Regions from separate parts of the Homo sapiens genome. Here region 1 is linked to region 2. Evidence: promoter capture Hi-C in human tissues and cell types (Jung and others, 2019). All regions are on one chromosome and are shown on one strand. Each heading gives the region's core, a stretch centred on a gene start or on the middle of the fragment in contact. The rest is flanking DNA. Distances are from core to core; before and after follow the strand shown. Region 1 overlaps HHAT (hedgehog acyltransferase). Region 2 holds the start of NEK2 (NIMA related kinase 2).

Region 1 (3,432 bases), core at 413-2,912, 1.3 Mb after region 2:
CCCCAGGTGACAGAAAGATCCTCCTGGCAGTATATCAGGTCCCTTGGTAGCTAGACCTGTGAAGAGGGTCTCAATCCTGCCTCACATAAAAGTAGTTTTCAAATAACCACTTTGAAGAATCTCTCATCCTCTAAGCCAGCCCAAGGCAAGAGCAAAATGCTACTGGACTTCCCATCTAAAACAGTGACAGCAGCATAAACTACTTGACTTTAAAATTATTCCCACTTCTTAAGTAAATCATCAACTTTCTTCTGAATTTGCAAGTGAACTCATCCAGATTCTCAACCACAGGCAACTTTTTGATCATTTGATTAGAAGTGATCTTAAAGACCACCACCACCCTCCATGGTTAGTTTTACACTACAACCTTTATATTCAATGCCTGAAAATAAGTTGGAGAAAGCAAGTGCAGGATATGAACTATGAACTTTTATCTTAAATGTTATATTGATTGTTAACAACTTTATCATTTTTTCCAGGCTCCCAGTGCTAATATCCAAGTCTTCCGATTCCTAGCTTGGACTCTTTCTTCACAAGAAGCAAAGGAAAAACACACTTAAAAGGTAACAACACATATAATCATACCTTTCTTGCCAGCAGTGTGGCCATTTGAGACACTACCATGTGGCCAAGGAGAAGCCACACCAGCCACTGCTTCCCCCATTCCATCCAGAAGCTCCACTCAAAGTCGGTCGCATCCTAAATAGGACAAAATAGTTTATCAGAGGGATTTCAGTACACGTCTGAGTCAGAACACAAACTCCAGTTAATAAAACTGGAAAGAAGGCCAGTGTGAGTCCAAACTCTGTAAAAGAGGATTTACACACTTCTAGCCTTTCCCCACCCACCTGTACACTCCCCTCCAGCTTGCTATTAGTAATGGCAAAAACTGCAATTACTTTTGCACCAACCTAACCGGAATGATTGCCATTGCCATTCCCCAAATGCACCTCGGACTTTCTACAACTCAGTGTCTTTGTTACAGCTGATCTCCCAGGGCCCTCTGTAGTATAGATGCTATTATTATTTCCATTTTGCAAAACATGAAACAGAGACGTAAGGAACTCAATTCATTTACCCAAGTTCACAGGGATAGTACAAGTAATGAATTGAGGCTATCCCAGTTTAGACAACTAGATATTTTCACTGAGAAATGTAAACTGGACACTAATAAAATGGCTTAAAGTCAGTTATTCTGAGTCTTGTTGCCATTTACAGACAGAATAATTTGTCAGAGAAATTAACTAAGTTCATATAAATTTATAATGAAGGAATGAAAGGTACACTTCCCTTCCCCCCAAGAAGCTCTGTGTCCATGTGGCATTCTGTGTCTGCATCAGTACCAGGTTCCACATCTATGAAGCTCCCCAGGAGGAGAAGGTAGAAACCTCTGACAACAGTGGACATGTGGACGCTTAGGAACCAGCACCTCAAAGTCATGGCCTCAGGAGCCCCAGAAAGGACCACGGAGGCCAAGAGGAGCGTGGAGAGATGCACACTGTCATCGGTCACCCTGAAACAGGCAATGCAGGCTTGGCCAGTGAACAGTTCAGCACTACCAGGATGGAGGGGGATTTGAGGTCTCAGAATTTTCTAAGCAAAATGTGTGCCTGGAAAAGGACTCCTGCAGGCCGGGCGCGGTGGCTCACGCCTGTAATCCCAGCACTTTGGGAGGCCGAGGCGGGCGGATCACGAGGTCAGGAGATCGAGACCATCCCGGCTAAAACGGTGAAACCCCGTCTCTACTAAAAATACAAAAAATTAGCCGGGCGTAGTGGCGGGCGCCTGTAGTCCCAGCTACTTGGGAGGCTGAGGCAGGAGAATGGCGTGAACCCGGGAGGCGGAGCTTGCAGTGAGCCGAAATCCCGCCACTGCACTCCAGCCTGGGCGACAGAGCGAGACTCTGTCTCAAAAAAAAAAAAAAAAAAAAAAAAAAGAAAAAAAGAAAAGGACTCCTGCAATGACCACTGATATTGAACTCCTCACCAATCTCTGCAAGTGGAACTTGAAGCCTCTCTTAATTGGATTTGAAGAAAAGTGTGATTTTTTTGGTGTACCTAAGATTGTGGGGTAATGTCATACCAGTTGCACACAAATAAAACTCTTTTTTGCAGAAGGTAAGATACATATAAAATTGATCTTGATTCATAACAGACTATGAGTGCAAGGTAGCTAAGACTGGAGGCTTGTTTTGGGTCCAGAGCCCAGATCTACTCACACACTTGCTGTGATGACCTTGAACATGATTCTTAACCTTTCTGTTCTGTTTCTTCATATGACAATAGTACTTACCTTACAGGGATTTTTGAGGCTTAAATAAGAGCATATGTACATTAAAAGTTTGTAGCAGCACACAGTGCTATTAAACAGCAGTACCCGCTACTAACTGCTAGACCCATGTGCTTCCCATCCCTTGTAAACCACCAGCCAAGACCGTATCATGCTTTACTTTGTGCCACTCATTTTAAAAAAGTTTTCCCATTTCTTCAAATAAGGAAATACAATACTGCGCATTCTCAGATTACACATGCTCCCCACACCCCAGATCCTGATACATGACCTGCTCATAAAGCCCCTGTCCCTTGCTGGAAATCATGTATGTAGTTGAATTGCTTCCATTTAGAGATGACTACACCAGAGTCTGGGACATGCCCACAAACACACAGCCAGGCAGCACAGCAGAGAACTCAAAGCTTTAACCTGGCTCCTGATCCCTGATCCACAGCTTATTTCCCCATCTAGAGATTTCCAAATTAGCCAAGAGTCAATTAACTAAACAAATGTAAATAAGTTCAAAGGTCATGTGATGAGGCCATGCTAGTAAAATACCACTTTTATAACAGGGATACAGCTAAAAGACACAAAAGCCAAGACACTTTTTTAATACAAACTCAAAAAGAAAAAAAAAAAAAAAGAAAAACATATGAGCTTTTTAAATACAACATTTTTGAACACTTAGAATTACATTTAGAATTCATGACCCCAAGCTTACCTATGCCTCGAAACTTCTCCAAGTTTAATTTTTTAGGGTGGAAAAAAGGATATAATACAACAAAACATATAAGACTTTCTGTTCCACCAGAAAGTCCAGGACTCCTGAAAACTCTGCTGGTAAAATCCCATCAACAAAAATTACACATGGCCTTTCACCTCTAATTATCACAGAAAACATTCATTTAAAGGAAATAAAAATGTCTCTCTCATGTCTATTCTTCCCTATTTAAAAAAGTTACCTAAGGGAAATGACCAAACAGAAAAGCTGGGCCAATGAATAGGTCAAGATGATGTTTAATGATTTGGGTAAGAAAAATATTGACTCACTGCTTCTTGAAGCAAAAGCTTTATAGACTCTGAGCTCAGTCACACATTTCAAGGCAAACATGAAAGCCTGAAATCAGGAACAACATCATGATCTGTCCCTTCCCCCATTTT
Region 2 (3,085 bases), core at 137-2,636:
ACATAACTTTTGAAACCTAAATTGGTCCTATTCCCCTGAGGTAAGACAGTGCCCTTGAATGTTAATTTAAAAATTCTCCTGGTTGGCAATTCCAATTATCTTATGTTATATTCAGGGCATGTAATAAGTCCCTTATTTTTACATAAAGAGCTTTTAAATTCTTATTAATAGAAAATCAGGTGTCTTTTAATCCTTTGCTGAACAGATATTTAAAGAAAACTGGCCTGTTCATGCATTTCCAAATTATTAGCTTTCTGGTAATTTACATATTCCTCTAACAAGCCCTGGATGGAGGCCTCTAAGTCCTCCTTCCCTGGTAAACATGGGGCTGTTCATTTGGCTGGGTAAGCTGAGAACGTTGGTGTGTGGGTGCGTAAAAGAGAATCTGTGTTCAATGAAGTATTGTCGATAGGGTTAATTGTGTATTTGGCACACATAAACGGGACAAGACGTGTAAAGTACTTGGTAGGAGAGCGACAGTATTTCTCCTTTTTTTTTTTTTTTTGGAGACTGGGTGTCACTCTGTCGCCCAGGCTGGAGTGCAGTGGCGCACGGCTCACTGTAACCTCTGCCTCCCAGGTTCAAGCAATTCCTCATGCCTCAGCCTCCCAAGAAGCTGGGATTACAGGCCTGCAACCCCATGCTCTGTTACTTTTTTTTTTTTTTTTTTCATTTTTAGTAGAGACGGGGTTTCGCCATGTTGGCCAGGCTGGTCTTGAACTCTTGGCCTCGAGCAATCCGCCCGCCTCGGCCTCCCAAAGTGCTAGGATTATAGGCGTGAGCCACAGCGCCCGGCCTAATTTTCGTATTTTCAGTAGAGACGAGGTTTGCCCTGTTGCCCAGGCTGGTCTGAACTCCTGGGCTCAAGCGACCCACCCACCTCGGCTTCCCAAAGTGCTAGGGTTACGGGCGAGCGTGAGTCACCGCGCCCACCCGGGAGTCTGTATTTCTAATTTGTATTCAGCTCTCAGCATATCCTCAACGTGACCCCACCCAGGTTCAGGGTACTGGAACCTGAGCGAGGAATGCGTGTGCCGGGGAGAGTAGGTAGTGTGAGGGGCCAGAGTGCAAAGGTCAGAAGGCATCTGGTGGAAGCGGTGTGCAAAGAAGCCTGAGGGGAGGACCTTAGATCTCGGTTACCTTGGCGATCTCTATCAGAGGGTTAGAGTTGCCGAGAGGCGCCAGCTGCCGCTTCCTCTCTCCCGCCCTCCGTTTGGCTTAGCTCGCCGGGTTCTCCCACAGGTTAAAAGCAGACGCCGACGCGGTTGCCTAGTGACACTTTTCCCAAAATGCCTAGGGTATTGTTGTGTTCTTCTTAGCCAATGAGAGAGGCGAAGCGGCCCACCGCCTGCCAATAGACTGCGAGATCAGGGCCCGCGACGGTTAAACGGGGCCCAAGGCAGGGGTGGCGGGTCAGTGCTGCTCGGGGGCTTCTCCATCCAGGTCCCTGGAGTTCCTGGTCCCTGGAGCTCCGCACTTGGCGGCGCAACCTGCGTGAGGCAGCGCGACTCTGGCGACTGGCCGGCCATGCCTTCCCGGGCTGAGGACTATGAAGTGTTGTACACCATTGGCACAGGCTCCTACGGCCGCTGCCAGAAGATCCGGAGGAAGAGTGATGGCAAGGTGAGCGTGGGACCTACCCTGCGCCTGCCCCTGCTTAGGTTTCGTCGCCTCGGGGCGAGCGCCCTGCGCCACCGAAGGGAACCGACAGGGCTGAGGAAATGGGTGCCCGGAAGACTAAACCGTCTTTCCTGGGTCTGCATCTGACAGCCTGTCCTGGGTGGCTTAAAGGATGGGAGACCGCTTCTTTTGATATATGTATTTCCATCTTTTCCCGTTTCTCTCCCCATTTCTCTCTTTCTCCTGCTTTGGCTTGCTAAGGACCTTCCATTGGTGACAGGTAACTAATTCCTGAGCTGTTTTTAGAGCTCTAAGAGTGGCCCTCTCAGGCACAAGAAAGGGGCAGGACTACCAGAACCCGAAGCTTTGTATCTGCAGTCAGACTCCCTCAAAATATCCATTATTAGGATTATTGGATTCATATTTCCCAATGTATATAGGTAGAACTTTTACAGAAAGTAACATTGGACAGGAAACTGCCTGGCTGCTGATGGAGGGATCTTTACCAAGGTGTCTCATCCTGGGAAAACACGACTGGGGTGGAATGGGGCAGGGACTTTGACCACCTTCACCCCAATTTTGACTATAGTACCTTTTAGCCAACTTCCCACTAACCAACTGAGGGTAGGGGTTGGGGGAGTCCTCATGTGCCTCATTCCCGTTTGTCTCCCCACAACATACATTTACTGCTTAGAACTGGAGGAAGATTATGGAAGTAAACTCACAGCTCCTTAAGTTCATTGAACTAAATTAGATAATGACCTTGATTGTAGGATATAATTAAAAGGGAGGTAATTTGTTAAATCTTGGAACTTTCATTCTTTGTTTTTGAGCATAATGAGTTCATTCATACCTTGGAAATTCTTATTTCAGATATTAGTTTGGAAAGAACTTGACTATGGCTCCATGACAGAAGCTGAGAAACAGATGCTTGTTTCTGAAGTGAATTTGCTTCGTGAACTGAAACATCCAAACATCGTTCGTTACTATGATCGGATTATTGACCGGACCAATACAACACTGTACATTGTAATGGAATATTGTGAAGGAGGGGATCTGGCTAGTGTAATTACAAAGGGAACCAAGGAAAGGTAAGCATAATCTTTTAAAAATGTAAGCTGAAATTGGTCTAGTTTCATTTATTTTAAGCATCTTGTTTTAGGATCAGTAATATGGAAGAGTGTATTTGTATTTGTTTGGTAGGTCCACAGTACTTTAGAAAATTCCTGGTGAATCAACACCCATATTTTATATCAAAATAACAATTTATAGGCTGAGTGTGGTGGCTCACACCTGTAATCCCAACACTTTGGGAGGCCGATGCGGGAGGATCACTTGAGCCCAGGATTTCAAGACCAGCCTGGGCAACATAGTGGGACCCTGTTTCTACAAAAATTAGCCAGGTATAGTGACATGTGCCTGTAGTCCAAGCTACTTGGGAGGCTAAGGCAAGAGGATTGCTTGA

Evidence for each region. The method cuts DNA at HindIII sites, captures the fragments that hold promoters and counts their contacts. A contact is called where the count stands out against the background at its distance.
Region 1: a contact is called between a fragment that was not itself captured here and the fragment with the promoter of NEK2 in region 2, in 1 of the 25 tissues and cell types used here (aorta).

Annotation. Positions count from the first base shown.
Region 1 is chr1:210,384,735-210,388,166 of GRCh38, reverse strand. HHAT (hedgehog acyltransferase) reads right to left here. Exons shown (of 12, transcript NM_018194.6): 4 at 586-699. Among named protein-coding and RNA genes, the nearest start is that of HHAT, 58 kb to the right of the region's middle. The HindIII fragment of the contact is 5,842 bases long and covers 1-3,432 here.
Region 2 is chr1:211,673,922-211,677,006 of GRCh38, reverse strand. NEK2 (NIMA related kinase 2) reads left to right here and starts at 1,386. Exons shown (of 8, transcript NM_002497.4): 1 at 1,386-1,623; 2 at 2,494-2,711. The coding sequence starts at 1,528. NEK2-DT (NEK2 divergent transcript) reads right to left here and starts at 1,245. Exons shown (of 4, transcript NR_148994.1): 1 at 1,141-1,245. RefSeq lists enhancers at 1,106-1,400, 1,423-1,682. The HindIII fragment of the contact is 6,262 bases long and covers 1-2,711 here.